4 separate regions of the Homo sapiens genome follow, and all the other regions are linked to region 4. Evidence: promoter capture Hi-C in 16 types of primary human blood cells and fetal thymus (Javierre and others, 2016). All regions are on one chromosome and are shown on one strand. The core of a region is centred on a gene start or on the middle of the fragment in contact, and the rest is flanking DNA. Distances in the headings are between cores, read along the strand shown.

The links. The method cuts DNA at HindIII sites, captures the fragments that hold promoters and counts their contacts. A CHiCAGO score of 5 or more calls a contact.
Region 1: a fragment that was not itself captured here is called in contact with the fragment with the promoter of GAB2 in region 4 in 2 of 17 cell types (naive CD4 T cells and naive B cells); the score reaches 5.5 in naive CD4 T cells.
Region 2: a fragment that was not itself captured here is called in contact with the fragment with the promoter of GAB2 in region 4 in 1 of 17 cell types (erythroblasts); the score reaches 5.7 in erythroblasts.
Region 3: a fragment that was not itself captured here is called in contact with the fragment with the promoter of GAB2 in region 4 in 1 of 17 cell types (neutrophils); the score reaches 5.9 in neutrophils.

The regions. Positions count from the first base shown.
Region 1 is chr11:77,808,820-77,816,108 of GRCh38, reverse strand. The region is part of intron 1 of RSF1 (remodeling and spacing factor 1); the gene reads left to right. It also overlaps the pseudogene RPS20P27. Among named protein-coding and RNA genes, the nearest start is that of RSF1, 8.3 kb to the left of the region's middle. The HindIII fragment of the contact is 1,997 bases long and covers 3,707-5,703 here.
Region 2 is chr11:77,762,718-77,769,931 of GRCh38, reverse strand. It overlaps RSF1 (remodeling and spacing factor 1), which reads left to right. Exons shown (of 16, transcript NM_016578.4): 2 at 5,243-5,334. It also overlaps the pseudogene LOC124902804. Among named protein-coding and RNA genes, the nearest start is that of RSF1-IT1, 27 kb to the right of the region's middle. The HindIII fragment of the contact is 4,436 bases long and covers 89-4,524 here.
Region 3 is chr11:77,447,087-77,454,138 of GRCh38, reverse strand. All of the region lies in intron 1 of PAK1 (p21 (RAC1) activated kinase 1), which reads left to right. Among named protein-coding and RNA genes, the nearest start is that of PAK1, 23 kb to the left of the region's middle. RefSeq lists enhancers at 4,645-5,074, 4,654-5,424. The HindIII fragment of the contact is 6,933 bases long and covers 1-6,040 here.
Region 4 is chr11:78,413,003-78,420,602 of GRCh38, reverse strand. It overlaps GAB2 (GRB2 associated binding protein 2), which reads left to right and starts at 2,783. Exons shown (of 10, transcript NM_080491.3): 1 at 2,783-2,957. The coding sequence starts at 2,883. RefSeq lists enhancers at 58-107, 3,043-3,797, 6,747-6,876 and silencers at 2,394-3,013, 3,124-3,223, 3,294-3,423, 3,886-4,180. The HindIII fragment of the contact is 5,597 bases long and covers 1-5,229 here.

The sequences.
Region 1 (7,289 bases), core at 3,456-5,955, 610 kb after region 4:
CACTTATTAGATGAAAAGAGAGAAACAGATTTCATCTCCACCATTTTCGATATGTCATAGAGTAAAGTTACGGAGGTTTGGAGGGAGGTTGTTGTCATTGTCCTAGGAACTAGGAGGTAATGGAGACAGAGGGACTTGTCTGGCTAACATGAGCCTGTTAATGCAAACTGGCTTACTTTTTAGTCTTTTAATGATTAAGAAGTTTGCCTTAAATTTAGATGTTTTGTTAAGTTCTTAAACAGACCTCACCGGTAAGAAGGTAAGCAAGCATTTATTAGTGAGGTTATTCACTTAATATATATATTGAGCATCTGCTATGTACAGATGTAGCTACAGTAAATATTGTGGGGATTATTTTTTTAAAAAAACATTAAACATGAGCCTTTTAAAAGAAATTTCTAATCTAGTAAGAAATAGCTAAACTGAGCTTGAAACTAATGACATCATTCAAAGACTTAGTTTTTTTTCTCTGAGATTTTATCAAGTGGAGCAATAGTCCGTGCATTCTAGTCTACAGTTGTAAACTAAAATTATCTAACAATTTTATGGTGAGATGTATGACCACATGCAATATGAAAAAGAATAATTCAGGCCTAAAGTACATGTTAAACTGAATCATGTATTCAAGGAAGACAGTTATGTGTGTTGTTAGATTTAATAAAATTTTACTCTACCTGATGGGTATAGTCTTAATATATTATGCTTGGCTTTTTTTGTTTGTTTTCTGTTTTTATTGTAGAGTAGATCCCACAAAAGGTATTAGGGTATTTTCTATTTTCTTTTAAAAACATTTAATTATATGGGCAATTATAATGTACACTTTGTAATTACATATGTTCTAGCAGGCTTTGATTTTTAATTTGTTTAGCTTTATATGGTCATATCTGTACGTTAGGTTTGCATTAGCTAACTTTTAAACATTTTTGCTCGCTCTTGTACTGTTGGGCACAAGCAGTGCCTCCAGGCAAATTGATGCCTAAACTAGAGAGAACAGCAGGCATTCTCTCCTTACTCTTCCACTTCCCCTTTACTTCCATTTCCTGATCCTCATGTCTGAAGTCACACCACCTTTAGCCATTTGAAGGGGCTGCTTCTTCCATTTTACGCTTTCTTTCACTTGTATGCCATAAAGTGCAGTGCCTGCTAGCTCCAGTGTGCTCTGTATGAGGTTTGCACCAGTGTGTTAGGAAGAAAGGAGGCACTGAAATTAAAAAAAAACCATATTTTGGGGGTTTCCAAGTCACTAAACAATTGAACCACAATAATAGAGGAAACTGACTTAAACAGTATTAAACTGGTATTGCTTCAAACATTATCAAAGGATTTCTGAGGTGAATGCCTACTTTATAAAAATGTATTTTTTCGGCTGGGCACGGTGGCTCATGCCTGTAATCCCAGCACTTAGGGAGGCCCAGGCGGCGGATCACCTGAGGTCAGGAGTTTGAGACCAGCCTGGCGAACATGGTGAAACCCCATCTGTACTAAAAATACAAAAATTAGTCAGACCTGGTGTCAGGCGCCTGTAATCCCAGCTACTCGGGAGACCGAGGCAGGAGAATCGCTTGAACCTGGGAGGCAGAGGTTGCAGTGAGCCAAGATGGTGCCACTGCACTCCAGCCTGGGTGACAGAGCGAGACTCTGTCCTTTTTTTTCCCCCCCAGAGTTAGGGCCTTGAATTCCTGGGCTCAAGAAATCCTCCTGCCCCAACCTCCCGAGTAGTTGGAACTACAGGCACATGCCACCATGCCCAGCTAATTTTTAAAAATTTTTTTGGTAGAGAATGAGGTCTTGCTGTATTGTCCAGGCTGGTCTTGAACTCCTGGACTCAGGTGATACTCCCACCTCGGCCTCCCAAAGTGCTGGGGTTACAGGCATGAGTCACCACTTGTGGCCAAAACTTTTTTTTTTTTTGAGACAGTCTCGCTCTGTGGCCCAGGCTGGAGTGCAGTGGCGCGATCCTGGTTCACTACAACCTCTGCCTCCTGGGTTCAAGTGATTCTCCTGCCTCACGCTCCCAAGTAACTGGGATTACAGGCATGCACCACCATGCCTGGCTCATTTTTATGTGTTTAGTAGGGACAGGTTTTGCCATGTTGGTCAGGCTGGTCTTGAACTCCTGGCTTCAGGTGATCCAGCCACCTCCACCTCTCAAAGTGCTGGGATTGCAGGCATGAGCCACTGTGCCCAGCCACTTCTTATTTTTATCCTGAGTTTAGGGATGTGTTAAATTGTATTAATTCTCCATTATCTCTGTGTGTGTGTGTGTGTGTGTGTGTGTGTGTGTGTGTCCTTTTACAAATTATAAATGGCCGCTCTTTGAGGAAGTCGCGGTGGTAGGTGCTGCGGCTCTGTGATCCGCAGGCTCCTGCTCCTTACTCACTACTGTTCGCTCTCGCCGAGGAACAAGTCGGTCAGGAAGCCGTGCAGCAGCTATGGCTTTGAAGGTTACCGGAAAAACACGCGTGGAGCTGGAGGTGGCAGTTCACCGAAATTGAATCACTCTAACGAGCCGCAACATAAAATCCCTGGAAAAGGTGTGTGCTGACTTCATCAGAGGAGCAGAGGCAAAGAATCTCCAAGTGAAAGGACCAGTTCGAATACCTACCAAGACTTTGAGAATCACTACAGAAAAAGTCCTTGTGGTGAAGGTTCTAAGACGTGGGATCCTTTCCAGATGAGAATCCACAAGCGACTCATTGACTTGCACAGTCCTTCTGAGATTGTTAAGCAGATTGCTTCCATCAGTTTGAGCCGGGAGTTGAGGTGAAAGTCACCATTGCAGATGCTTAAGTCAACTATTTTAATAAATTGATTACCAGTTGTTAAAAAAAAATTATAAATGGCAGACTTGATCCCATTCATCATTAGACTACTTTCATGTTTTGCTCAGAATTAAGTAAGTTTTAATATTCATTTAAAAATACTTATCAAATAAATTTGGTTTCTCTCAAAGTAAGTTGTGTAAGATATTCTGATTTTAGCAAATTATTTCATAATTTGTGCCTTTCTGTTAATAAACAGAAGAAGCAGGGATGAGGTGGTGGGGAATTTGCAGTGTTTATTTAATCTTACCAGTTTAGAGGCTGGACAAAGAGCAAGAATTAAAAGTTATGCTTAGAATGTTTGTCCAAAATTAAGGTGATCTTTTCAGTGTAAGAACATGAGTTGTGAGGGCACAGCAAGCAGAAACTACACCAGACTGATTTTTTTTTTTTTTTTTTTTTGAGATGGAGCTCTGTCACCCAGGCTAGAGTGTAGTAGTGCGATCCCAGCTCACTGCAACCTCTGCCTCCTGGGTTCAAGTGATTCTCCTGCTTCAGCCTCCTGAGTAGCTGGGACTACAGGTGCCCGCCACCACGCCCAGCTAATTTTTTTGCATTCTTAGTAGAGATGGGGTTTCGCCATGTTGGCCAGGCTGGTCTCAAAAACTCCTGACCTCAAGTGATCTGCCTGCCCCGGCCTCCCAAAGTGCTGGGATTACAGGCATGAGCCACCACATCCAGCCCAAACTGATTTTAAGAAAGAAGAGCATGAGGGCAAAACTTGACAGCAGACAGACCAGGCTTCAGCCTCCTGTAGTTGAACAAGGATTGCTTGAAGAGCAACATGAAGTATATAATGTATATATGGCTCATGTAAGCAAGAGTTCCTCCAGAAAGCTTTCGTAGTGGAGGTTGAGTCTGTATTTAATTTTAGACTCTAAGCTTTATTCTCCAGTATTTGTACATGTTTATCTTAATCATTTTCTGAATAGTAGGATTATACAGTTTTTTCCCTTTGGTTTTTCTTATATTTTTTCACATTTCATTTTCTATGTTAATTGTGCATTTCTTTGATAATCACCAAAAAACTATTTAAAACTAGATTTCTAAAGAGGCTTTTTAAAAGGAAAATTGAATTTCTGCTTGTATTTATGTACTCTTATTTTTATAGACAGGGTCTCACTCTGTCACCCAGGCTGGAGTGCAGTGGCTTGTTCTCTGCTGACTGCAACCTCTACCTCCCAGACTCAGGCGATCCTCCCATTTCAGCCTCTCAAGTTGCTGGGGACTACAGGCATGTGCCACCACACCCAGCTAAAAATTTTTTGTATTTTTAGTAGAGACAGAGTTTCATTATGTTGCCCAGGCTGGTCTCAAACTCCTGGGCTCAAGCAATCCACCTGACTCAGCCTCCCCAAGTGCTGGGATTACAGGCGTGAGCCACCAAGCTCAGCCTATTTATTTATTCTTAATCTTGAATTACCTCTTAAATGAATGTTACTATCATCTACCCAAGTCACTCAGATCAGAAACCAAGGAGGCATCCTAGACCTTAGCCTCTGACACTTTCTTTGATACCAAGTTATATTGAGTCTGTTTATCCCCTTTTATATTCAACCTTGCTTTTCTGTTCTCATTGCTAGTTTTAATCACGCCAAACTGCTTTTACATCTCTGAAGATGTGAAAGGTTGTTTTACATTTATGCTTTTTCTTCGTCCTCCTGCCTCTGAGTCGAATATACCATCCCCATCTTCCTTCCCTTGCCTGCTCACTGTACCCGTCATTAGTCTGCTCTTTAAGCATCAAATGCTCTGTGGAAAATTTCCTTCTTTCTGTCTCTCAAGTTAAATTAACCACTTCAATCTCCTTACCCTGCACGTACACTTTGTAGATTTTATGCCACAGTACTCATAACACTTTTTGCAGTTACTGCCTAGCCTACAAGATGGTAAACTCTTTGAGGACAGGGTTTCTTACTTTATTTTATCACCAGCAATTGGTGGGTAATAGCAAATATGTAGTAAATGTTTGTGGAATTAATAGTTTTCCTCAACTTACTATAGGACCATGTTCTGCTCTAAAACTTTGAAGTTAAAGCCTAGTCTGTGATAGCTTAGTACAGTGGTGGGCAATCTACAGCCTGTCCTCTCTATCTTTGTAAATAAGGTTTTACTGGTATACAGCCATGTTCATTTGTTTACATTCTGTTGTCTGTAGCTGCTTTCACACAACTGTGGCAGAGTTGAGTGATGGTCACAGAGAACATATAACTTCAAAACCTAAAGTATTGGGCTGGGTATGGTGGCTCATACTGCAATCCAAGCACTTTCGGAGGATTGTCTGAGTCCCAGAGGTTGAGGCTGATCATGCCACTGCACTCCAGCCTGGGTGAAACAGCAAGACCCTGTCTCAGAAAAAAACAAAACCCAAAACCTGAAGAACTTATTATCTGTCTAGCCCTTTACAGAAAAAAATTTACTGATCTTTATTCCAGTGTATGAAGATGGAAGTCTTATCAGATGATGATCTCTGTTTTTGAAAATACATTTAGAACCAGTATAATACAAATTTCCAGCCTCGCCAACATGGTGAAACCTGGTCTCTATTAAAAATACAAATTAGTTGGATGTGGTGGGATACACCTGTAATCCCAGCTACCTAGGAGGCTGCCACACAACAATTGCTTGAACCCAGGAGGCAGAGATTACAGTGAGCCATGATTATGCCATTGCACTCCAATCTGGGCAACAGAGGGAGACTCCACCCATCTCCCCCCCAAAAAATAAAAATAAAAAGGAACCAATATAATACAAATTAAATGCCTAGAATGTCCTGTGAATGAAACTTAGTGGAACAGTAGTCTCCCCAGTATTGATCTAATTTTACATCCAACTGTTTTAGTATTAATTACTCCTCTTGGGTTAGGTGAGTCTAAAAGCTTTTTTGTTAACAAGGTGATGACATTATATTGAACTAAATTTCTTTCATTCAAGAGTAGCCATGGCTACCTCTGCCTAATTGTCATAAGGCAATGCCAGGATGGGAGCCATGTGACATGGTAATTGGTAGTGAGGGTAAGAGTTGTTGTAACATTGCTGCTATACTGGCCTCAAAGTCTTATCCAAGTGGACTGATTAGGGGAGGGTAAGGTTGGATGAATGGTGATGCCGTGTACTCAGATGGGAAAGGATGTAGTTATTAAAGGTAGAACTTAAAAGATTTACTTAGGTTACTTAGAGGACACAGGACTGGGAAAGAATGTACTAGATAATAGCTTACTAGTAAGTGGGATTAAATGCCTTGGTCATCAGTGTATTTTGCAGCAAAAGTGCAGTACTGGTTATGAAGCTTAGGCATGTGTTATGCTAGATATCTCAGGGAGTTTGATACTTACTCTTTTCCTTTTGTCCTTAGCATCTTCACAGTTGGCTCTGCAAATAAATATAATTGCCACTTCTTCAATGTTTAGATGTTAAAAGTGTTTTAGGAAAAGAAAATTAGGTAGAATGAGTTATTCCAAATAATCCATTCTAACTTGCTTTTGGTATTTGGAGTTTGGGGATATAGCAATATGGTAATATTGGAAAACTTTGATTAATCAGAAGTATAATGGAGCTTACTTTATATTCCCATTAAAGTCTTGCCAACCTCCAGTTTATCAGAACCATAAATAAACCATCTACAGCAGCACTAACTTGGTCTGGCATCTGAATTCAGACATTCCATAATCCTCATTTTAGAGGTTTTTTGTCCTATGAATTTTGACTGTGGTCAACTGGTTTCTCCTTGCTATCTTTTTGCCTCATGGCCTTTTCATTTTATACCCTATCTTCTATTATTACCTAGTTGTATTCACCATGATAACTATATCTCACTCCTTTAGTGTCCTATTTTCCTGTATTTTGGACTTCCCCTTTAAACCTTAATTATCTTCTCCATTCTTATCTTTCGTAGAAAAATAGATTACAAAAATGCAAAAATAAGGGGCTTTGTAGTATGCATGCTTTACCATAATTTTATAGGTTAAATGCCTGTAGTAGTACTGTTGTAATTATCAGAGCTTACTGTTGAGCCAGACTCCATGATAAAGTCATCTACCAAGATTATCTTATTTAATCCTTAGAGCCACTCTATTTATAGTGTCATTATTTTCATTTTATAGATAAGGAAACTATTTAGAAAGGTAAAGTAACTTGCCTGAAGTCACACAGTGTTAAAGGGTTGGAGAAAATTTTGATAAAAAGATACTTGTAATGCTGTGGGAATTTAAAACTGGGTAAGTCTGGCTTCAGAGCCCAACTCTTAACCAGTGTTTTGTCCCCACAGGTATGCTCTTAAAATGATTGTAGTGTGATCCACAGTACTATGGTTGTGGTCTGAACTCTAAGCAATGATCTGAACACTTAGGCTTCTGAGTCAGATAACGTAGCATATTTCCCCACTCACCTCTTTTTACTTTAAAAGTTTTAATTTTATTAGCATGAACATTATTTTTAAAAGGTATAATATTTGAGGCCGGGCGCGGT
Region 2 (7,214 bases), core at 1,057-3,556, 650 kb after region 4:
AATCACTGTGTCTGAAATAAATGTTCTTTTATCAATGGCCTAGATAAAGTGTCAACTGTTTCCATAACTGTATCTCTGCTTATAAGCTTAAACTAAATTTAAGTAGAAGACTTTATTGAAGAATAAGAATTAATGTGTTTAGCCGTTATGAGGTGCTGTACATTTCTACCATTCAAAAAAGTAAAATTATAAGTAACACAATAGAATTGCAGGAGCAGTGACATTTTTAAGACATGGTGCTAGAAAGATGCTTAGAAAAATGTCAAAATATAAAACATCTTTGAGTAATTGGATCAGTAATGTAGTCTGGGATTCCACCACTTTTCTGCTACTTCATACCTACATCATGTTGGCAGCCCTTCATGAATTCACATAGCCCCTGACTGTTTCTTTCTCCTTCAGAGTCTTTCACCTCCTGAGGCCCTGTGAAAGAAGGGGGTTTGTTTATGAAATTTATCATGTGAAAAGGTAGAGGATATTTCAGTTCAATTAGGACAAAAACTATTTTTTGGATTGACTTGAAGTGGCTAATCAGTAAATCTTTAGAAAGAAGTTAATTATCTTCTGGAAATGAAACTGTTTTAGAAATCTTGCAGGTGATAAATAAATTTAGAGCTTGTCAGTGTTTTAGAAAATGATCATGTATTTAAAAAATATGATTGATGGCTGGGCACGGTGGCTCACACCTGTAATCCCAGTATTTTGGGAGGCCGAGGTGTGGTGGCACGTGCCTGTAGTCCCAGCTACTTGGGAGGCTGAGGCAGGAGAATCATTTGAACCCAGGAGGTGGAGGTTCTAGTGAGCTGAGATTGCGCCACTGCACTCCAGCCTGGGCGACAGAGCGAGACTCCATCTCAAAAAAATATATATATGATTGATACTTTACAGCTGTCCAAAGCCATAGCAACTTACTACGTGTTTATTAAAATTTAAGATAATTTAAAAATAAATAAAATTAAGAATTGAGTTCCTTAGTTTCATTAGCCACATTTCAGCTTCTCAGTAGACACATGTGGCTAATGGCTACTGCACTGAAAAGTGTAGATATAGAACATTTCGATCATCCTGGAGCAATCTATTTAATAGACAGTGCCGTTTTAAAGAATAAAAAGTATGGTGATTTTAATGTTTAATAAACTATAATGTTGATTAATTTTCCTGTAGCCTGTTTCTTATCAGTTGACAGATTATACTAGTGCACTTAAAGATTATCAGCTTGTCAGTTCTATTTGTAACAAAATATTAATTCAGTTGGGTTATAAATTTTAATTTTAAGCATGCTGGGTCTACACTATGCAGTGCTATCCAGTACAGTAGCCACTAGCCACATGTGGCTCTTGAGCACTTGAAATGTAGCTAGTTTGAATTGAGATGTGCTGTCAATGTGAAATGCACAATGTATTTTAAATAGTCTGAAAAGTAAAATCTTTTACTTAGTACAAAAGAAAGTAATACTTTAAAAATAGTGATTGGCCGGGCGCAGTGGCTCAACACCTGTAATCCCAGCACTTTGGGAGGCCGAGGCGGGAGATCATGAGGTCAGGAGTTCGAGACCAGCCTGACGAACATGGCAAAACCCTGTCTTTACTAAAAATATAAAAATCAGCCAGGCGTGGTGGCGCACGCCTGTAATCCCAGCTACTGGGGAGGCTGAGGCAGGAGAATCGCTTGAACCCGGGAGGCAGAGGTTGCAGTGAGCCAAGATCACACCACTGCACTCCAGTCTGGGTGACAGAACGAGACTCTGTCTCAAAAAAAAAAAAAAAAAAAGCTGATAATATGTTGATATAATTTTGGATGAAGGGCATTAAATAAAATATATTATTAAAATTAATTTTAACCTCTTTTTACTTTTTATAATATTTTACTAGAAAATTTGAAATTATGTGACTCACCTTACATTTCTATTGCACAGTGCTGACTGTAGAAGAGCCAGTACTCTTTTAAATCAAGTAATACATAATCTATTTGTACATGCCTAAATCAACAATGAGTAGATTTGTAAAGTGGGATGAAAACATTTATTCACTTTTATTTTTGTCTTGTATTGGCTTTTAAAAAATAGTACCAGTTGTATCAAAATCTTTCATGATTCTGTGTAGCATAGAACACTGGTGGGGAACATGAGTAAAACACTGGTGCAAAGGTTTTAGCCAACTGCTTAATGAGTGATACAGACAGTATGAATACAGTGGGTGTTCCAGGGACAAAAAGGTTGCTGGTACTAGAAATCTATCACGGAGACTTTCGGGACTTGTATTGCCTAGACATTGAAAGATAAATATGATTCAAGTGGGCAGAAAACAATAAATAACTCTTTAATAAAGCCCACATAGGTAATGGGCTGAGCATGCTTAGTGGACCATTAACTGGCAAAATGATTCGAATCAAGGATTTCAGTGCAGGAAGTAAGAGAGAAGAATTGCAGAGTTAGTATGAGACTGAATGTTGGGACTCTGAGGCTAGGGTAAGAAATCTGGCTGGGTTTATGTAGGTATTTAGGAGCCATAAAAAATACTTACCAACTGGGAAGTGATATGAAAGCAGTCTTTTTGGAAGATTGGTTTGATTGCAGGAGACTATCCATAGCTGTTTTTCTGATGCGAGAAGGTATAGTCATGTCCTAGGGAAAGGAGGAAATAGGAGGCAGGTTTAAGATGTGGGAAGGGGGAACATCAATACTTCTGTGTTTGTGGAAAAGGAGAAATTGAAGAAAGTGACCTTGGTTTTAAAACAGAAGAGAAATAAAAGTATTTTATATTTATACAACGCTATACAGTTTCAAAATTCCATGAGATAGCCAACACAGCCTTTTTTAATGGAGAAATTGAGCTTCATTGTTTAAAGGACTTGACCAGAACCATTGTCCCCTTATATAGGTGGGGCAGCTGAGAATCCAGCCCAGATCTTTTATCACTGCACAACCAGTAAATCACTAAGTTTTGATAATTTTGTCTCCTAAACATTTCTCAGATCTGTCCACTTCTCTCTGTACCACCTCTACCTTAGTTTAGGCTACTTCTATCTTCTGGATTGAGGTTTTCCTGAATTTATATCTAGCTTCGGCCCTGCACCCCACCTCCTAAAACAAAAAAGCAAATAAAAACTTCTTTTGTTAATATTTAAAAATCTGTCTTCCTCCAATTCAATCATTAAGGTCTTCTAAAATGCAACAGACTCTCCTGCTTAAACTTTTACATAAAATCTAAACTTCTGAGCCTGGCCTCATTAGGCTGTAATTATCTATGTCCATTCCTCCAGTTCCATGTTCTTTTTGGTTTTTTAGCTATTTGCATCTGTTGTTTTTGTGCAAGCAATGCCCTTTCCCTCCTTTTCTCCATTCCACCCTTAACCCCCCATAATTCACATCTTAGTAGATTTGTCTATTTACTTGTCTTTGAACACTGTTCCCCACTCCCACCCCCAACCCACCACTCTACCTGCTATGAAGATTCACTCAAGTAGGCTCATTAAAGACAGAAGGACTGTTTCTTTCTTACTAGTATTTGACCCACTGAAAGTAGTTGAATGGGTGAATGTTTTTATATTTCAAAGTGTTGTTTCAAATTCAGAAGGAGCTTTAGTAGAGAATGAAAGAATGACTGAAAAATATTAGGTCATCATTTCCCAACCTGTCCCTCAGAGTGTTTGTATCCTACAAGATAGTGGATCAAATATGTTAGAGAACGCTGCAGATTATGTACCTATTTTGGATATTCACAATGCACATAAGGGCGAATGATAAGACAATGGTCCTGTGGTTTAAAGATAAAAAAACAACTTTTTTTTTTTTGATCCAGCATTTTGCCAATATATTTGAGTATGGGATCTTTTTAGGTAGTATACTGTAATTTCTCTTAGGTTACAAATATTTGATCATTTTAGGCCTGGTGCAGTGGCTCATGCCTGTAATCCCAGCATTTTGGGAGGCCAAGGTGGGCAGATCGCCTGAGATCAGGAGTTCCAGACAAGCCTGGCCAACGTGGTGAAACCCTGTCTCTACTAAAAATGCAAAAACTAGCCGGGAGTAGTGGTGGGCACCTGTAATTCCAGCTACTTGGGAGGCTGAGGCAGGAGAATTGCTTGAACCCAGGAGGCGGAGATTACAGTGAGCCAAGATTGTGCCACGGCACTTCAGCCTGGGCAAAAAGAGTGAGATACCGTTTCAAAAGAAAAAAGAAAAATGCTTATTTTGACAGCCGTATGTGTCCCTCTGGTCTAATTAATGTAATTAAATACAATCAGACCATGCCTAAATAATAGTTAGAGGAACTCTGATTGTTTACAGTCAAAGCAGAGAATCTGAGGGAAGATACGGCAGTCCTCAAATATTTGAAGGTTCCAACAGAAGAGGGATTAAAAGTACTGTCATTGAAACTAGAGAATAAGAGCCAGAATCAGGAGAGGAAGTTGTCAGAGGGCAGATTTTGACTGAGAGTAAGGGTAACTTTCTAGTAATTAGAACTATCCAGAAAACAGAACTAAGTGCTATGGAAGGTAAGTAATTTTTTTGTCCATGAAGCTTGTCAAGCAAAGATTCATAGAAATGCTACAGAGAAGTTTAACACATCAGACAAGGGATAGATTGGAAGAGTTTTCCAAAACAGTTTGGAAACTGTTAGTTTAATTTCTGTCGTATCTGTCAACTTGGAATTCATACTTCTTGGTTCCTTTCTAATTCTATGAATGTATGTCTTTGAAATCTCAGTAAAGGAACCAAATATTTGTTATTGCAGATAAACAATACAAACTTTAGTTGTATAGTTAAGTGCTTTTACTTGATGGTTTTTTTTTTTAACAAACTATTTTTTTAAGAGCAATTTTAGGTTCACAGAAAAATTAAGCAGCAAGTACGGAGAGTTCCCATGTATCCCTGTCCCCATACTCATACAACTTCTCTACTGTTGGCTCCCACAATAATGGTACATTTCTTATAATTGATGAACCTACATTGACATATAATTATCACCAAAGTTCATACTTTATATTAGGTTTTACTTTTATTTGATGGTGTTTTGAAAGAAAATGTGAATATTCTTGCTTGTCTTTGAGAAAGTGGTTTTTGGTCATTTCTTGCTGTAGTTTAGGCTTTTTTGATTCAGAGGTCTAAAAGTTAGCTAGTATCAACACTGTCTGTTTTGAGAAGGTATCCAGGGTTGGAGAAGATTATTTTTTTATTATCTTAAATGTTTAGAATTGTTTTATTTTGTTGGCTAATGATATTTTTTTTCTTTCTTTTAAGTACCAAAAGAATTGGTGGAGCTCCATTTGAAGCTGATGAGGAAAATTGGCAAATCTGTTACTGCAGACAGATGGGAAAAATATTTGATCAAGGTAACTAGTATTTGTAAATTTCCTGCTCTATTACTGAAATATTACTCTAGCATAAATTGATATTATGTTTTATAATACACATAATTTTTAATTAGTTTACTAAAAGTAAGACTATGGCTCCAAAATCCACATGACTGCAAGTATGTGATTCTCTTCTTTTGCTACTACTTAGTAGCAGTCTTGAGTCCTGAAGTTAGATTTCAGAAGTGTTATATCTCTTTTGTGCCTAACACTGTGCTCAGGACTTTTCATGTCTTTTCTCATTTAATTCTTAAAATCACCCTGATCACATCAAGTAAGAAACTAATAAGGCTCAGGGATGTTGTCATTTTTACTTTAGTTCACATAGTATGCATAGACTTATTTAGTGGTTCCCCTAGACTCTGTTATATAGAACAGAGGTCCCCAACCCCTGGGCCACAGACCAATAGTGGTCATCCCCATTCCTCTCCTTACCATGTGAGCTCTGCTTCCTCTGAGATCAGCTGCGGCATAGATTCTCATAGGAGTGCAAACCCTATCGTGAACTGCACATGCGAAGGATCTAGGTTGTGCACTCCTTATGAGAATCTACTGACTGATGATCCGTCACTATCTCCCATCACTTCCAGATGGGGCCATCTAGTTGATTCAAATGTAATGCATTTGAATCATCCCCAAACCATCTCCCTCCCACCCACCACCCCCAGTCTGTGGACAAATTATCTTCCGCAAAACTGGTCCCTGATGCCAGAAAGGTTGAGGACCACTGATACAGAAACATGCCATCTTTTTCGTTCCTCAGAATTTTTGCATATATGGTATCTTCTGCCTGGAGTACCTTCCCACCAGTTTGTTTTCCTAGCCAACTTATTTGTCCTTTAGGTCTCAGCTCAAGTAGTACTGTCTCCTTGAGTCCTTCTCTCAGGAAGATGTTCCTTCATGGATTTATGTTTAACCCTATTTTAGAAACTGTCATATGGTTTTATATTGAATGTTCATTATGTACCAGGCGCTGTTTAGTGCTTCCTTTGCATTATCTCAACTTTAAAATACTGATTATCCTCATTTTACTCACAAGGAAATTGATTTTGAGAAACTAAATAGAGTAACTTGTCTGGTCTCACATTGCTAAAAACGACAGAGCCAGCATTCAAATCCAGGACTTGGTGAATCCAGTACTTTAAAATATCACTGATGAAATGTTCCTCACATTTGTCTTTTGTGTATATTGTAAGTTTCTTGAAGGCTTCTTTTAATCTTTTTTTTTTTTTTTTTAAAGACAGTCTCACTCTGTCACCCAGGCTAGAGTGCAGTGGTGCTGTCTCGGCTCACTGCAACGTCCACCTCCTGGGTTCAAGCAATTCTCTTGCTTCAGCCTCCTGAGTAGCTGGGACTACAGGTGCGTGCCACCATGCCTGGCTAATTTTTTTTGTATTATTAGTAGAGACAGGGTTTCACCATATTGGCCAGGCTAGTCTCGAACTCCTGACCTCGTGATCCGCCCACCTCGGCCTCCCAAAGTGCTGGGATTACAGGCGTGAGCCACCGTGCCCGGCGGCTTCTTTTAATCTTTTATGCATCAGTATTAGATGGATCAATTAATCACTGAGACAATTTTAGTTTTCTTTCCCTTGACTGCCAGTAAGCTTAACTTTGTTATATTTATTTATTAGTTATAATCATTAGCTAGTTTTCTGATGGAATTTTTACCTTCCCTGTTACATGGCTCTTACAGTGCTCTCGTCTTTCTCCTTGTGGCATCATTGTACATATGTATTACTGAAAGCTGTTTCTTTTCCTTTTGAAGTAAATGGAATATAATTAATATAAAATTCTGTTTAAATCCAGAGCAAGTATCTGGCATCTGCTAGGCCTTGTTGCTTTGCTCATAGCAGACA
Region 3 (7,052 bases), core at 1,325-3,824, 970 kb after region 4:
AAAGAGCTACAGAATATGAATGATGATACTTGGCTAAGGTAGTATGAATTTTATTTATTTGTTTATTTATTTTTCAAGACAAGGTCTCGCTCTGTCACCTAGGCTGGAGTACAGTGGCCTGATCATAGTTCACTGCAGCTTCAACCTCCTACTTCAGCCTGCCAAGTAGCTGGGGCTACAGGCACGTGCCACCATACCCAGTTAATTTTTTTGTATTTTTTTGTAGAGATGGGGTTTCGCCATATTGCCAGACTGGTCTTGAAGTCCTGAGTTCAAGCAATCCTCCTGCCTCAGCCTCCCAAAGTGCTAAGATTACAGGTGTGAGCCACCGCACCCAGCCTGGTGTTGGATCTTTGATCATATTCAGATCAGCTCTGGTTTAACTGCATGAACATGGGTTCTGCTCTGCAGTCTTACCCTGGGGCATTATATGAATTATTTGGCTGTTACAGGGATAGTGCAGTTCCTTTTGCTCTTATAACTAATATGTATTCAGCTTGCTGTGACCATACATATTTTATGTTCTTCCCTGGCACTATAATTCATTCCTTTTTATTTTCTCCTGTGAGGTAATTAAAATTTGTAATACCATGCCCTTTTCCCCCTTGTTTTTTTTTTTTTTAATATATCTCACATTTTCTAAATATAGAATACTTACAAGTTCATGTTAAGTTTCAGTGGGAAAGGTGTTTAGAATCAGTTTGGACTCTCTCCTTTGCTTTATATATAAAGAAACTAGGACAGACAGGGAAATAATTTTTCCAAAAAAATTTTTTTTTTTCCTGAGACTGAGTTTTGCTCTTTTCGCCCAGGCTGGAGTGCAATGGCGCGATCTCGGCTCACTGAAACCTCTGCTGCCTGGGTTCAAGCGATTCTTCTGCCTCAGCCTCCTGAGTAGCTGGGACTATAGGCGTGCGCCATACACCTGGCTAATTTTTGTATTTTTAGTAGAGACGGGGTTTTGCCATATTGGCCAGGCTGATCTTGAACTCTTGACCTCAGGCGATCTGCTTGCCTCGGCCTCCTGAAGTGCTGGGATTACAGGCGTGAGCCACCGCACCTGGCCTCCAAAATCTTATATATCCCACTTCTTCCTTCTTCCTATTTCTTGGCATGGATGAATTTACATCTGGGGCTTTCATTTTTTTGTTCTGTAATACTAGTAAAAAGTCATTTGTAGATTGTTTAGATCTGATGGGATTTAGTTAAAGTCATAAGCCTGATTTGCTGTGAGGCAGGGCTGATGTGCCAACCTAGGAAGAGAGAAAGCTAGTGAATAGAAGTGTTAGGAATCCAGCAGAGGGAAAAGGGCCCTACCATGAACACACTCTTTACTCCTACTTGGCTTGTTATTAGATGTGCCAACCCTGTTATTAGGTGGCTTATGGCTTCTTCTTTCTTTATATCTAGGGTGTTTGAGGAAGGTAAATATGCCTTTTGAATGGGTAATTTCTACTCTTTGGTGCTGAGCATTTTCCACCTTCGTCTATACTGTAAATAACCAGTCTTTTTTTTTCTTTTAGAAAGTTACTGCTTGAGTGGCAAGGAAATTAGAGAAACTGCTTCTCATAGACTAGTTGGGTTGCTGGCTGAAGGGGACCCTAGGAGATGTCTAATTCAACACCCTTATTTTATGAATGAGAAACTGAAGCCAAGAGAAGAAAAGCAGCTCATTCAATATTATATAAGTTAGTTACAGAGTCAAGACCACATCTCAGCACTTCTGACTCCCTATTAAGTATATTTTTACTACACCTCTCTGCAAGGCAAGTGTAAGAGGAATTGTGGGGTAGTGTAAAGAGTGCAGATTTGAGGGCATGAGATCTGGGTACAAACTGTGGCTCTGCTACTTACTGACCTGTTTCTCAGAAAGTAATATCACTTCCTTAAGCACCAGTTTCCTATTTATAAAATGAAATTATGTTGATACTCTGCCTCACAGCGTTATCATTAGAATGAAATGTGAGATGCAGGGGAAAAAATGAAATGAAGACTTTAAAGTGGACGTGGCCAATTTACTTATGAATTTTTAGCTCCATCACTTATTAACTGTGTGATTTTGGGCAAGTCACTTAATTTCTGTGAACGTAGTTTTTTCTTTGTAAAATTGAGACAATAATAGCTCTCTTACAGGGTTGTTTTGAGGACATTAATATATATAAATGTAGGGGAAAAGAAATATTTTTCCCATTGCTATGTTCATGGCTGAGGCTCCTGTAGCAAAAGACATTAACGAGAGAGGTCGGGCGTGGTGGCTCACGCCTGTAATCCCAGCACTTTGGGAGGCCGAGGCAGGCGGATCACCTGAGGTCAGGAGTTCGAGACAGCCTGACCAAAATGGTGAAACCCCGTCTCTACTAAAAATACAAAAAATTAGCCGGGCGTGGTGGTGGCGCCTGTAGTCCCAGCTACTCGGGAGGCTGAGGCAGGAGAATGGCATGAACCCAGGAGGCGGAGCTTGCAGTGAGCAGAAATCGTGCCACTGCACTCCAGCCTGGGCGACAGAGCAAGACGCCGTCTCAAAAAAAAAACAAAAAAAAACAAAAGACATTAACGAGAGAAAAGCAAGCAAATATATTTAATACAAGTTTTACATGACATAGGAGCCTTCATAAGGAAATGAGGATGCAAAGAAACAGGCAAACTTGTGTATTTTTATGTTTAGGTTTGATGGAAGAAGTGGGTAGTCTTGGAGAAATATGATTGGACAAAGGCGGTATGATGTAATGGTAATAGGATCAGGGTTGGAGGGAACTTAGCAAGGCTGGTTTGTTCAGATTTTTCTGTATGTCCCTGTGTCTTCAGAGAAAAATGAGGCTTTCCTCTGGGAATAAGGAGGGTACCTCTTGAATGAGGATCTGATTACCTGCTTCAGGGGAGAAGGGTGAGGGGAAGCTGAGAGTGAGAATACTTTCTTGCGTCTGCTGTTTTCTCATATGCTAAGATGTCATATTTTGGGGTAGCATGTCTTGAACCCCATTATAAAGAATCAAAGTGGTGGCTGGAACATAATAGGTAGTCAGTAAATGTTTGAGATATTCTCAGAAGACTTAGTTCTGTCTTCTCAAATGGTTTCCCTAAAGTCTTAAAATAAATACATCAGAACTTCTTGTTCTGTGGTTTTAAAGTGTTTTGTGGAGTTTGATTCCAGAGGCTATAGGTGGTGTAAGGTATGAGCTTTGCTGTTAGTCAGATTTCCATTCTAAACTCCTGTGGCACATAGGCAAGCTCTTCTGCCCAGAGAAGGGCCTCTAGAGATGGCAGGTTTTGTGGTAAATGGATTGAAAAAGAGGAGGAGGAAACTTGGTAACTGGGAAACTTGGGTCACTTCTGCAGGCAGTTGCAGCCCACTGAATAGCAGTATGTCAGGACCTTAGTGGTGAAACCATTTTTCATTGTGATCTCTGTCTCTGTTATTCTAAGTGTCTCAAAAACTGGAACCATGTCTAAGTCCTCTGCTGTTTCAACACCTGACCCACAGTAGATATGCCAATGTATTTTTTTGAAATAATATCTATCTAAAGTGGAGAACTTCTGTGGCCCATAGAGTTCCATAAATCCCTAATGGCTCCTAATTCTTCACCCCAGCTTCACCTTGCAGAGATATTTGTATTTAACAAGGATTTTCTAGTCTTTAATCATAAGGATTTGCAGGATTTCAGGTCTTGGGTTTTTTAGGCCTTGCTCTGCTGCCTACTTCCCTTTGCAAATATGGTCAGGCCAGACAGCTATTTCCTTCATCCCTAGTCATTGTGTGGGACCTGCCAGGTTCTTTCGGGTTTTTAATGCTGGGGTGGTATTTGTGGCTTTAATGCACAAGAGTTGGGGAGCATGAAACCCACATGATCAGGTAAACATCATTCTCTCAGTGGGTCCAGGGTTATGAGAAAACATAATGCTGGGATGTTCTTTCTTCCCAACTCTACCCCTAGAATTGATACTTTTATGTAAGCCATTAATTCAGTAAATACCTTCTGAGCATATATACTGTGGATCAGACATTCTGCTGGGTGCTTTAAATAATTATCTTTCCAAATACTCACAAGTTAATACTTTGAGTTAGACTGAGGGTATTGCCTTCAATTTCGCAGAAAAGGAGTCTGAAGTTTAGATGAAAGGAAATGACTTGCCTTAGCTAGTAAAGGGCAGACCCAGGATTTGAAACCAAGTCTTCATGACTAAAAGATAATCATTGATTGTCATGCTTGTCTATGCTTTCAGAATGGGAAGCTCCTTGAAGATGCATGTCTGATTGAATTTTTGCTCCCTGTTCTCAGCACAGGGGCTAAAACAGAATTTTTAAAAAATTGAATATGTAATACATTGGAAAGTCCTAGATAGAATAGGGGAATTGGGGTGAGGGTATTGAGAAACTGTTTCCTAGTCCACATTATTTCCCTGGAGAAGCTCCAGTCCTTAGGGTGATTTTTTTTTTTTTTTTTTTTTTACCTATAGGATTGAAAAGGAAAGCATTATTCATTCCAGCAACCCATAAGGAAAACTAACACAAACATTGTAATGCTTTAAAGATCTTCGTGTCTCATTGGGAAAATAACACCTCCTTCACTGTGTTATTTTGAGGAAAAGTGAGATGATAAAAGAGTCTGCCTGAACTCTAACGTTTTATGTTAAGTTGTTTTCATGCCTGGCTTTACCTGCCCTATCCCCTTTCTGGGCTTCAGTTTCTCTATGTGTACAGTGAGATGTTGAACTGAATGGTCTTGCTGCTCTTCCTTCCTTCATTAACATGAGAACAGATAGTTGATGCCTCTGATGTTCATGTTGTTCCCATTGCCCTTTTCTCTTTAAGCGCACTGCCTAGTTTCCTTTAAAGTCGTTGCCTTCTTTAGTTTTCTTTTTAAGCTGTTTCTGTGTGGGCTAGTGTTCCCTTTTGAGGTTGAATTGAATTGTGTAAGGCCTCAGGAAGTGGTGGAAGCACCTTCCTCAAACCTGGTTGCACCAAAGGCCCATCAAGTCAAGTCTTGTCCCCAAAGAGGAAGAGAAAGCCTGGGGTTCTTAGCCCAGGCTAAGATTGAAGGAGTTTCTCTTTCGAGCTTTCTGGGTTAATTTCAAAACGTACAGGAGGGACATTTTCTTTTAAATTTCAAACACTCACCCTGTATATCATTAATATTCCTTAGCCATTTTTGTATAATATCATTTTTTAATTTCTATCCACCTTCTTAAATCTGTCCCTTGGGTCAGACAAAATGAATTCAACCTTTCCTCCACATGACAATTCTTTATAATCACAATAGTGATTTTATTACTGTTCTTCTCCAGCTAAATAGTTTCAAGAGTTTCTCAAATGACTACCTCTTTTTGCCTATTATACCACTTTGCTTTCCACAAAAAACTTCCCATGGGTAGTCCCTTCCTCATGCTAATCTTATTTCTGGTTCTGTATAACCTATCACTTCTTTGTAAGTTTTCACACTATTGCTGAAATAAGCCAAACATTCTTTCTCATGTTCCCTTAACTTGGGTCTCATAGCATTTTGTTTGTTTAACATGTTTTCCTTTGCTTGCTGTCCTTACACTCAACAACCTTCAAGACCAAGTTCAAATATCTGTCTCTGATGCCTTCTCTGACATTGTCCTCCTGTGCCAGGCAGAATTAGTATTTCTTCCTTCAGTGTTTATGTGTTACTCTGTTGTAATGGCTATGACATCATTTCTTATATTATATTTGTACTGTGTTATATTTTGTGTTGTACTGTATTGTAATTAATGTAATTTGTATATTCTACCTCTCCTTAAACACTTCTTCAAAACAACCCTTCCAAGGTTAGAAATACGTAGCAAATACCAGGTGGTCAATAAAAGAGGAAAGTACCACGCATTGAGTAACTTACTGCTGTGCAAGTTGCCTAATAAATATTCCCAATCCTCACAACAGGTCTCTGACATATTTTTCCATTTTTTCCCATATGAGTCTCCCATTTTACATATGAGGTAATTGAGGTCCAGAGAGATTAAATGATTAATTTCTGATCTCACAGCTGGTAACTCAGACAGAATTGGGATTCAAACCCAAGCTTGCTGATTCCAAAGCTTGAGTTGTGTTTGGAACTATTCTTCTGACTCCTAATTCAGTATTCTTTCTGTGCACATCAAAAACACACAAATTGAGTATGTAGATGTGTTTAATGCAGTGATGGACTAGAGTTCAAATGGGAGTGTGGTGGAATGAGGAGCAAATAGCTGTGGTACTCTCATAATTGTGTATTAAGAAATAGCCCTAGAGTTATTAATGCCTTAATTGCAACTGTAGGCAATTCTGTAATTTGGCATTTTAAAATGAATCTATTTTGGCTGGGCATGGTGGCTCACGCCTGTAATCCCAGCACTTTGGGAGGCTGAGGTGGGCGGATCACCTGAGATCAGGAGTTTGAGACCAGTCCGGCCAACATGATGAAACCCCCGTCTCTACTAAAAATACAAAAATTAGCTGGGCGTGGTGGTGGGCGCCTGTAATCCCAGCTACTTGGGAGGCTGAGGCAGGAGAATCGCTTGAACCCGGGAGGTGGAGGTTGCAGTGAGCTGAGATCGTGCCACTGCACTCCAGCCTGAGCGCGAGACTTCCCCTGAAAAAAAAAAAAAGAATCTGTTTCATCTTGTTAGCAGATATAACAACACCTACCTTTGGACATGTTCTGTTCTAAAAAGGGATGAAAAGCTGCTTCTCTCACACTACCACGGGCAAGATAGATGAGCTCAGCTTTGACTTGAAACAGTGTTAGTGCTTATGAAATCTTTCGCCTCCAAGTTTTGTCCTATTTTTGTTAGGTGCTGGTAACCTACCTTTCAGAGCTATAGAATCAGACAATGGGAATAATGGGATTCTTATCCCAACTATTTGAACAGGTTCTCACCAGGGAGAGCCCAAACACAAAGGACCTTTTTGGAGTTGGTAAAGAAGGCCAAAATGTAGACCCTGGGAAACACCTCTGCCTCCTTGTTTTGTGGCATGGGCTGCTGATTCATCCTATATTCTTTTAAGTTGGCTAATAGCGGATGTGTTATAGAAAGGTAACAAAAATAGGATCTAG
Region 4 (7,600 bases), core at 1,534-4,033:
GGTCTTTAAACAAAATTGCCTAAATTATGGGCTAGTGATGCATGTCCGCTCAGGGCTTGGGGGTGGGGGGATTGTCACCCCAACTGGTTCCGATAGATGGCGCCTATCTTCATGTAAATCATTCAAATGATTTGTTTTCCATTTTTTTCCCAGCAAAAACCGGGGACCATTTAAACAGACACACACAGCAGGGAGTGGAGAGGACTTAGTAAAAGCCCAGACAGGAACTTTCCGTCCAAGGGTTGTTTCCAGGCCTGGCACGCCTCTCAGGCTCAAAAGACTGAGCCACTCCAGGGTGCAGCCAGGGACTTGAGCAGCAGTCTTGCTTCCTATGCACAGCCCGAGATGGGCACTAGCAGCAAGAGGGACGCAGGGTGGGAGTCCAGCTGAAGAGCACAGTAAAAAAGCCCCTTTCGGCCGGGCTCACGCCTGTAATCCCAGCACTTTGGGAAGCCGAGGCAGGCGGATTACGAGGTCAGGAGATCGAGACCATCCTGGCTAACATGGTGAAACCCCGTCTCTACTAAAAAAAAATACAAAACATTAGCTGGGCGTGGTGACGGGCGCCTGTAGTACCAGCTACTAGGGAGGCTGAGGCAGGAGAATGGCGTGAACCTGGGAGGCGGAGCTGGCAGTGAGCGGAGATCACGCCACTGCACTCTAGCCTGGGCAACAGAGCGAGACTCCGTCTAAAAAAAAAAAAAAAAGCTCCTTTCTTTAACCTTTGGGGAAAGATGGGGGTGTTCAGAGAACCCTTCCCAAAGTCGATACCTGGTGACTGTTGTATTCATATTTCAAGGTCCCTCCTGCCATTGGCCAAACAAGAAACATCAAACTTTTCCATTTCCACATGAAATTGTAAATAACACCATCTTTTCCTAAGCAAACAAAATAAGACTTTAAGGAATTTCTGGCAGAATATGACCTAACCCCCACTAACTCTTGCTAAACAGTCTTCCAGTCTGTGTATTGAATCATGTAACTATCAAAGGATACGTAAGACTACTCTTCTGGGGGAAGATAGGGCATACGTATGCCTGACTTGCATCACAAACCTCAGCTGCAGCCAAACCATGCAGATTTCTCCGACTCTGCAATCTCTGGGACTTGGCACCATGACTCAGATGTGAATGAAGTCAGGATAGTTTTATTTTGGTTGGAAGTCACCGCCTCCTGATTGATTTGGCAGACGTTAAGTGTTGTTTGTCTTACAGGGATTTAAGGTACTTAAAGCCAGAAGTTAAAATGGCCATCATTCTGGTGGTGGCCCTTCATACGTGACTTAAGGATCCCTAAATTGTAAGGTTAAGGGAGCTGTGGTCCCAGCCTACCAGTTCTGGCTTTACTTCCCATCCAGCAGCACACTGGATATTGAAGAAAGTCAGTGAAATGTTAGATCCAGGGGACTGACCGCTAAAACTCCCAGGGTATCTAGAAGAGCTAAGTACGTGGTAGGGGATTCGCTTTTCCAAATTGAGGAGGGTGAACTTCCCCCAACCCAATCAAGATCTTTTGGACCAAATGATGTCCAACTGCTTGAAACAACTCAGCTGCACAGAGACAGAAATAAACAAAACAGCTTTAGTCTGAGGTTGTGTGGGGCACTGCAAGATGCTGCTTCTCCAATTCATCTGTCCACACAGCACGGTTCCCCATTGAATAAACAGGTTACTATCCACTTATCAGAGAAGTTAGGGAGGACCTGCCTTTTAATGCTGCTTAGAGAGACACTTTGTGATGAGAAAAGAGCTCGTACAAAAGATTTTTTTCTCCCCCCTCCCGCTGAAGTGCTGGGGTTGTGTGCTTCCACGTACATCTGGGATACCATTATATTTACAAACAGAGGTCTCATAGCCTGTGTCAATGAGCGGGAACGTTGGGGAATTTGGACCCCAATTTCTTGTTCTTCTGCACTTGACCTTGCCTTCCAATTCGTTATGAAATACATTGACTAGTTTTGCTTCTTCCATTCTACAAATCATGCGAATTTTCTATACTAAACTGTGTTTTCCCAGAGGCAGTGTAGGAGGGAGTCAGCTGGACTTGGTTTCCAGGCAATGAGAGGCTCCCAGGTCGATCCCATTAAGGCAATGCCCTCATTTTGAATAGCAGATGACCGGGACCCCTCCTCCCCCACACACCTGAATTGGAAAATTGGCTCGGCTTTGTACAAGCCCTTGCCCTTAGGCTGTCCATAAAATAGGAACAATACTGAAGACAATCCTGTAAGCTACAAAAGCAAAGGCTCCGGCGCGTAGTAGGTCCGTCTCCTCCTCCCGCCGAGGGACGCCAGAGTTAAGGAGCTTCTTGCTGGGAAGGGGTCCCTCCTTTCAGCCGGAACCTGACCCGCAGAATGTATCGGAAATGTGAGCAGCCCTAGTATCCCTTCCCCGTCGACGCTCGGTGAAAAATCGATCGACGACCGAGGGCGCGCAGTCCCTTCCCCTCACACCCGCCAGCGCCAGGGGCGCGGTCGCCTCCCTGGCCTCCGCGCCCGCGGCTTGGGGCCTCAGGAGAAAGCGAGACTCCGGGGCGCGCCGGCGGCGGTGGCTTTCTGTATCCTCGCGGGTCCCTAGCCCCGCGTCCGCGTGCGCGGCGGCCTCGGGGGCGCGGCGGGAGCGGGCGTGGCGAGCGAGCCGGCCTTCCTGCTGCAGCTGCTCCCCCGGCGGCCGGGCGGAGAGTGCGGATTGCGCGCGCTCGGGGCGGGGGAGCGGGCGCGCGCGAGGCTGCCGGGCTCGCGCCGCGCCGCGCCGCCTAGTCCCCGCCGGGCCGCCCGCCCCGCCCCTGGCCTCCCGCGAGCTGCGCACCGCCGGCCGCTGCCCCAGCTGCCCGAGCCCGCGCCCTCGTCCGCGCGACCCGGCGGGGGGCTCCAGGCCGGCAGCATGAGCGGCGGCGGCGACGTGGTGTGCACCGGCTGGCTGAGGAAATCGCCTCCCGAGAAGAAGTTGAGGCGCTATGTGAGTGCGGGCGCGGCCGCCCAGGGGCGGGCGGGGGGCGCTCCGGGGCCTGCGGAGGGGCGGGGGACTCCCGGAGGGGCGGCAGGCTGGGGAGCTCGGGCCCGGAGCCGCGGGGGGCCGGGGGCGAGGAGCGGCCGGGGGCGTGTGGGGCACCTGCACACCTGTCACAGGTGGGCCGCCGAGGGGCGGGGCGGGCGGCAGGTTGAGGCTGCGGCTCCTGCTCCGCCAGGCGGGTGCGGCTGCGGCGCCTCCCAAGCCGGTCTGCTCGTGAACTAAATACAGTGTCGAAGTTTTGTATTGATGGCTTCTGGAGACCGAGAGAGTTGACTCTCGGGGCTGGGGCTCCGCGGCAGCCCCGAGCAGCTTCAGCCCGCAGGGTCGGGGAGAGGGCGGGAAAGGGGGGCGTAGGCTGTGGGGCCGCGCGGACGGCCCCACAAAGGGCGAGCGCCTCACGCCCTCTCCTTCCCTTTCTCCGCCTGCCCCTCCCGGCCGCCGGCCTCCCTCCGTCCGCGGCTGCATCACCGGCAGCGTCAGCGGCATGTGCAGCCCTTGTATTAAGTGACTCATTTGTTTGTCCCCCTTCTTTCCCTTTATTCCGTTCGTCTCTCACAGGCGCCTCCCCCCGACCCCGGTGTGACACTGCAGTTTGGTCCCCGTGGCTGGCCCGGGTTTGGGACCGGGCAGCTCCCGGGTGTCTGGGGTCGGGAGAGATCGAGGCTCTCCGCGGCCAGGTGTTGCCAACCGACAGTGTTTACTGAGATCGCTGGAACAGCCTTTTCCCTCTAGGTGGGGAACTGGCAGCCTGGGGGAGGTGGAACAGCGTGGCGCTGAGCCGTGGAGTTCTGGCTTTTTTTTTTTTTTTTTTTAACCCCTCTCCCCAGAGGATGCCTTGCCTGGTGAGGTCAAAGTACAAGATGGTGCCAGTTACTGAGATTTGGCCGAAATGGTCTTGGGGTAGTCGCGGGAGTTTGGAAGTGGGGGTAAGGTTGCTGGAAGGTTTCAAGGTCTCTCATCTGCTCCCTCTCCGTTTCCCATGAAATGCCCTTGTTTAACGGGCTGTGGTGCCGAACTCCGGGATCACTCCCACAGCCTGGAAGGGAGCCGTTGCCTCCAGCTGCAGTGCATCAAGGGAGCTCGGAATAGACCCTGCCCTCTGTCAGCTGCACCAGTGGCTGTCCATGGGGGGAGAGGCAGAAGCCTACCAGAATTTCCTGTCTTGGCTCCCCAGATCAGAATCAAGGGACTTCTGGCCTCTGGACTGAGGAAGTGACATTCTGTTTTTCAAAGGAAGTGTTGTTGTTGCGGAGTACAAGTGTGTGTCAATGAAATCAGGCTCTTAGGTAGATGTTTGCTGGGGGAAAAAAATCTAAGGATTTAGCACATGAGTTTTGAAAGTGGACGTGGATTTATAGGAGGAATGAAGCAGTGAATTGTTCATCTCAGTTCGGAAGCTCATTTTTAGGAGTGTCTATGTAGCCAAAGTATAATTATTAAGAAATAAACTTTTTTCCTCTTCAGGGTTGTATCAGTTCGTTAGGAAGGTTGAATATTTTAATTAGGATTAAGGAGCAGTGATTTACTATTAACAATTTTATAAATAATTTAAAAACTTTGTCCCGAAGAGCTTCCAAAAATTATCTATACAAATAGATTTCCATACAAGCTAGTGGAATACAGTGTCCACAGTAAAAAAAAAAAAAAAAAAAGTGACCCTTAATTTTCAAGTTTGAACACTATACACTAAAGAACCTTGAAAGTTGTTTTTGAAACAATTTGCAAACAGTATGACACTGTATCTACATTTGACTTATCGCTCCTTGAACTCTCACCCAGACTCTATGACCCATTTCTTGGGTGTTTTTGTTCCCAAACAACTTTAGTTCAAAATAACCAGGTTTGGAGGCATTTGGGTCAAGCACCTTTTTCACTGATTTGAACGAATCTAGTCGTATGATGGCCTTAGCCTCTCTTTCCCATCTTCCATGTACCTTCAGCCCATCAGGTGTCAGACCTTAACAGCTTTAAGTAACAGCTTTTCTTAGGTTAGGATGTGATGTGTTCACTTACATGACTGGAAGCCTCTGCCCCTTCGGAAGTTCAGTTTCCCCCTAACTGAAACTGGTGATATGTGTAACCTTAAGCCTCTGGGGAACAGTATGCCTTTACATCTACTTTTCTTTTGGGGTATTCAGAATTTTTGCATCCTGTTGTAAGTTAAAACTCTGCTAGTTTGCTTATTTCAGTAGAGGCCCGAGTTCATTAGAACCAAGCTTGGAAAGTATTTCCCAGCCCCATGGCTGTATATTTACCCCAAAGTAGCTGCTGCTTCTGGTATACATCATAGGCGTGTTATATTGTAGATTGAGAAATCCTCATTATAAGAATACATCGAGCATATGTGATAAGGGGAAAAAGTAGTTGAACTAGGTTATAACTATTTAAAACGATTTTTTAAAAAACTGACTTAATTTGAAGTCTGGGCGCAGTGGCTTATGCCTGTAATCCCAGCACTTTGGGAGGCTGAGGCGGGTGGATCACTGGAGGTCAGAAGTTCGAGACCAGCCTGGCCAATGTGGTGAAACCCCGTCTCTACCATAAATATAAAAATTAGCTGGGCGTCATGGAGGGCATCTGTAGTCCCAGCTACTCAGGAGGCTGAGACATGAGAATCGCGTGAGCCCGGGAGGCTGAGGTTGCAGTGAGCCGAGATCGTACCACTGCACTCCAGCCTGGGTGACAAAACGAGACTCCATTTCAAAGAAAAACAAAAAAACTTACTTAATTCGGAAAGACGGGAAGGTGTAGAGGGGAAAAACATCTTAGAAGAAGCAAAGGCAAATGTTTGAGCAATTAGTTTTCAGGGATTTTTTTCATCAGCCTTTTCTAGTTAATTAAGTATAAGTATAAGAGACCTATCTGCTATTTACTGAGTGCCCTGGAGAAATTGCAAAAAGTGTCTCTGGAAAATGCTGACTATTGCCTCTGGGGCATCCTGATATGGCTGCAGTGGGAGGCCGGCAGAAGTAACAACCCTCCCATCGTGCCTCAGTGTATTTGTGTGTGTATGCGCGTGCATGCAAATGCATACACACGTACATGTATATAATTATTAAACAGAATTTTCTTGAGGAAAAACATTTTATTAATATGACCTACACTGCATTGTAGTTTTCTATCAATTTCACTGGATTAAAAGATTGAGGGAATAAGATTGGCAGACTACCCCCTAGTGGCTAACTTGAAGAAAGTTGTGCACAAATTGTAAAGAACTACTGCATTAAGGTAACAGTAATTGTTTATTTCCATTATATTTATTAAATATACTTATTAAATCTATGTCCCAGGCACTGGATCAGGTGCTTGGAATAAAAATCCAGTAAACAGAAAAAAAAATTAATCCAGTCTTTCAGTCTTAGCAATGGCTTTGCCTTCTCCTTCAAAGGAAAATTGAAATGATGAGGGAGTAGTTGTCTGTACGTACGATGAATGGCCACATTTTCAAATTTACTTGTATCTGCATAGTTCCTTTCTTTCTTCCTTTTTTTTTTTTTTTTTTTTGAGACAGAGTTTCACTTTTGTTGCCTAGGCTGGAGTGCAATGCACGATCTGGGCTCACTGCAACCTTTGCCTCCTGGGTTCAAGCGATTCTCCTGCCTCAGCCTCCCAAGTAGCTGGGATTACAGGCATGCATCACCACACCTGGCTAATTTTGTATTTTTAGTAGAGATGAGGCTTGACCACGTTGGTGAGGCTGGTCTTGAACTCCTGACCTCAGGTGATCCACCCGCCTCGGCCTCCCACAGTGCTGGGATTACAGACAGACATGAGCCACCGCGCCCAGCCTGCATGGTTCCTTTCTTGTTTCCTTTTCTTAGAGTAGATGAAGTGCCACTTCTATCTGAGCTAATCCTGCTACTTATACTTTGAATCATATCTTCTCCTCCCTACTCAAATAATTCTTATCCTGTAACACATCTTCAACTTCTTTCCCTCTCTGTACTACCTACTTTTTTTCAGGGATAAACTTGGTGGTGGTTTATGCAGTCTTCCTTTCTCCCACCTTCTTCTCAGTCGGCTCCAGTGGAAACCTACTTTGTTATTCACCAAAGCTATTCTGACAAAGGCACCAGCGATACCCAGGTCACTAAACTCAGAGGATGATTTTTTACTCCTCATTTTAATTAATCTCTTCACTGCTTGGTCATAGTTGACCACTCTTTTTTAAAACACCTTCCTCTTATCTTGGCTGACACTATAAATGCCTGTTATTTCTCCTTTTCTGGCTACTCTATATTTCCTTTGCTAGACTGACCCTTTTATCCAGTCCTTAAAGGTTGAAGCTCCTTTATAGTCATAGTGGCTGTGTGGTTTCTCCCCTTTGGCAACCTTGTCCATTCTACTGGCTTCAGTTATCATTTGCATGGTGGTCATCAAGTTAAATTTCCATCTCAGAGTTGTGTTCTGAACTTCAGACTTACATATCCAACTGTTAACTGGGCATCTCTATTTGAATGTTTCCCAGTCAACACAAACTCACCACTTCCAAAACTAAACTCTTCTTTGTTCATCTCTTCACTCCACATCTGCTCAGTAAACAGTGCCACTAAGCACCTACTTGCTCAGATGAGAAACTTGGGCATCAT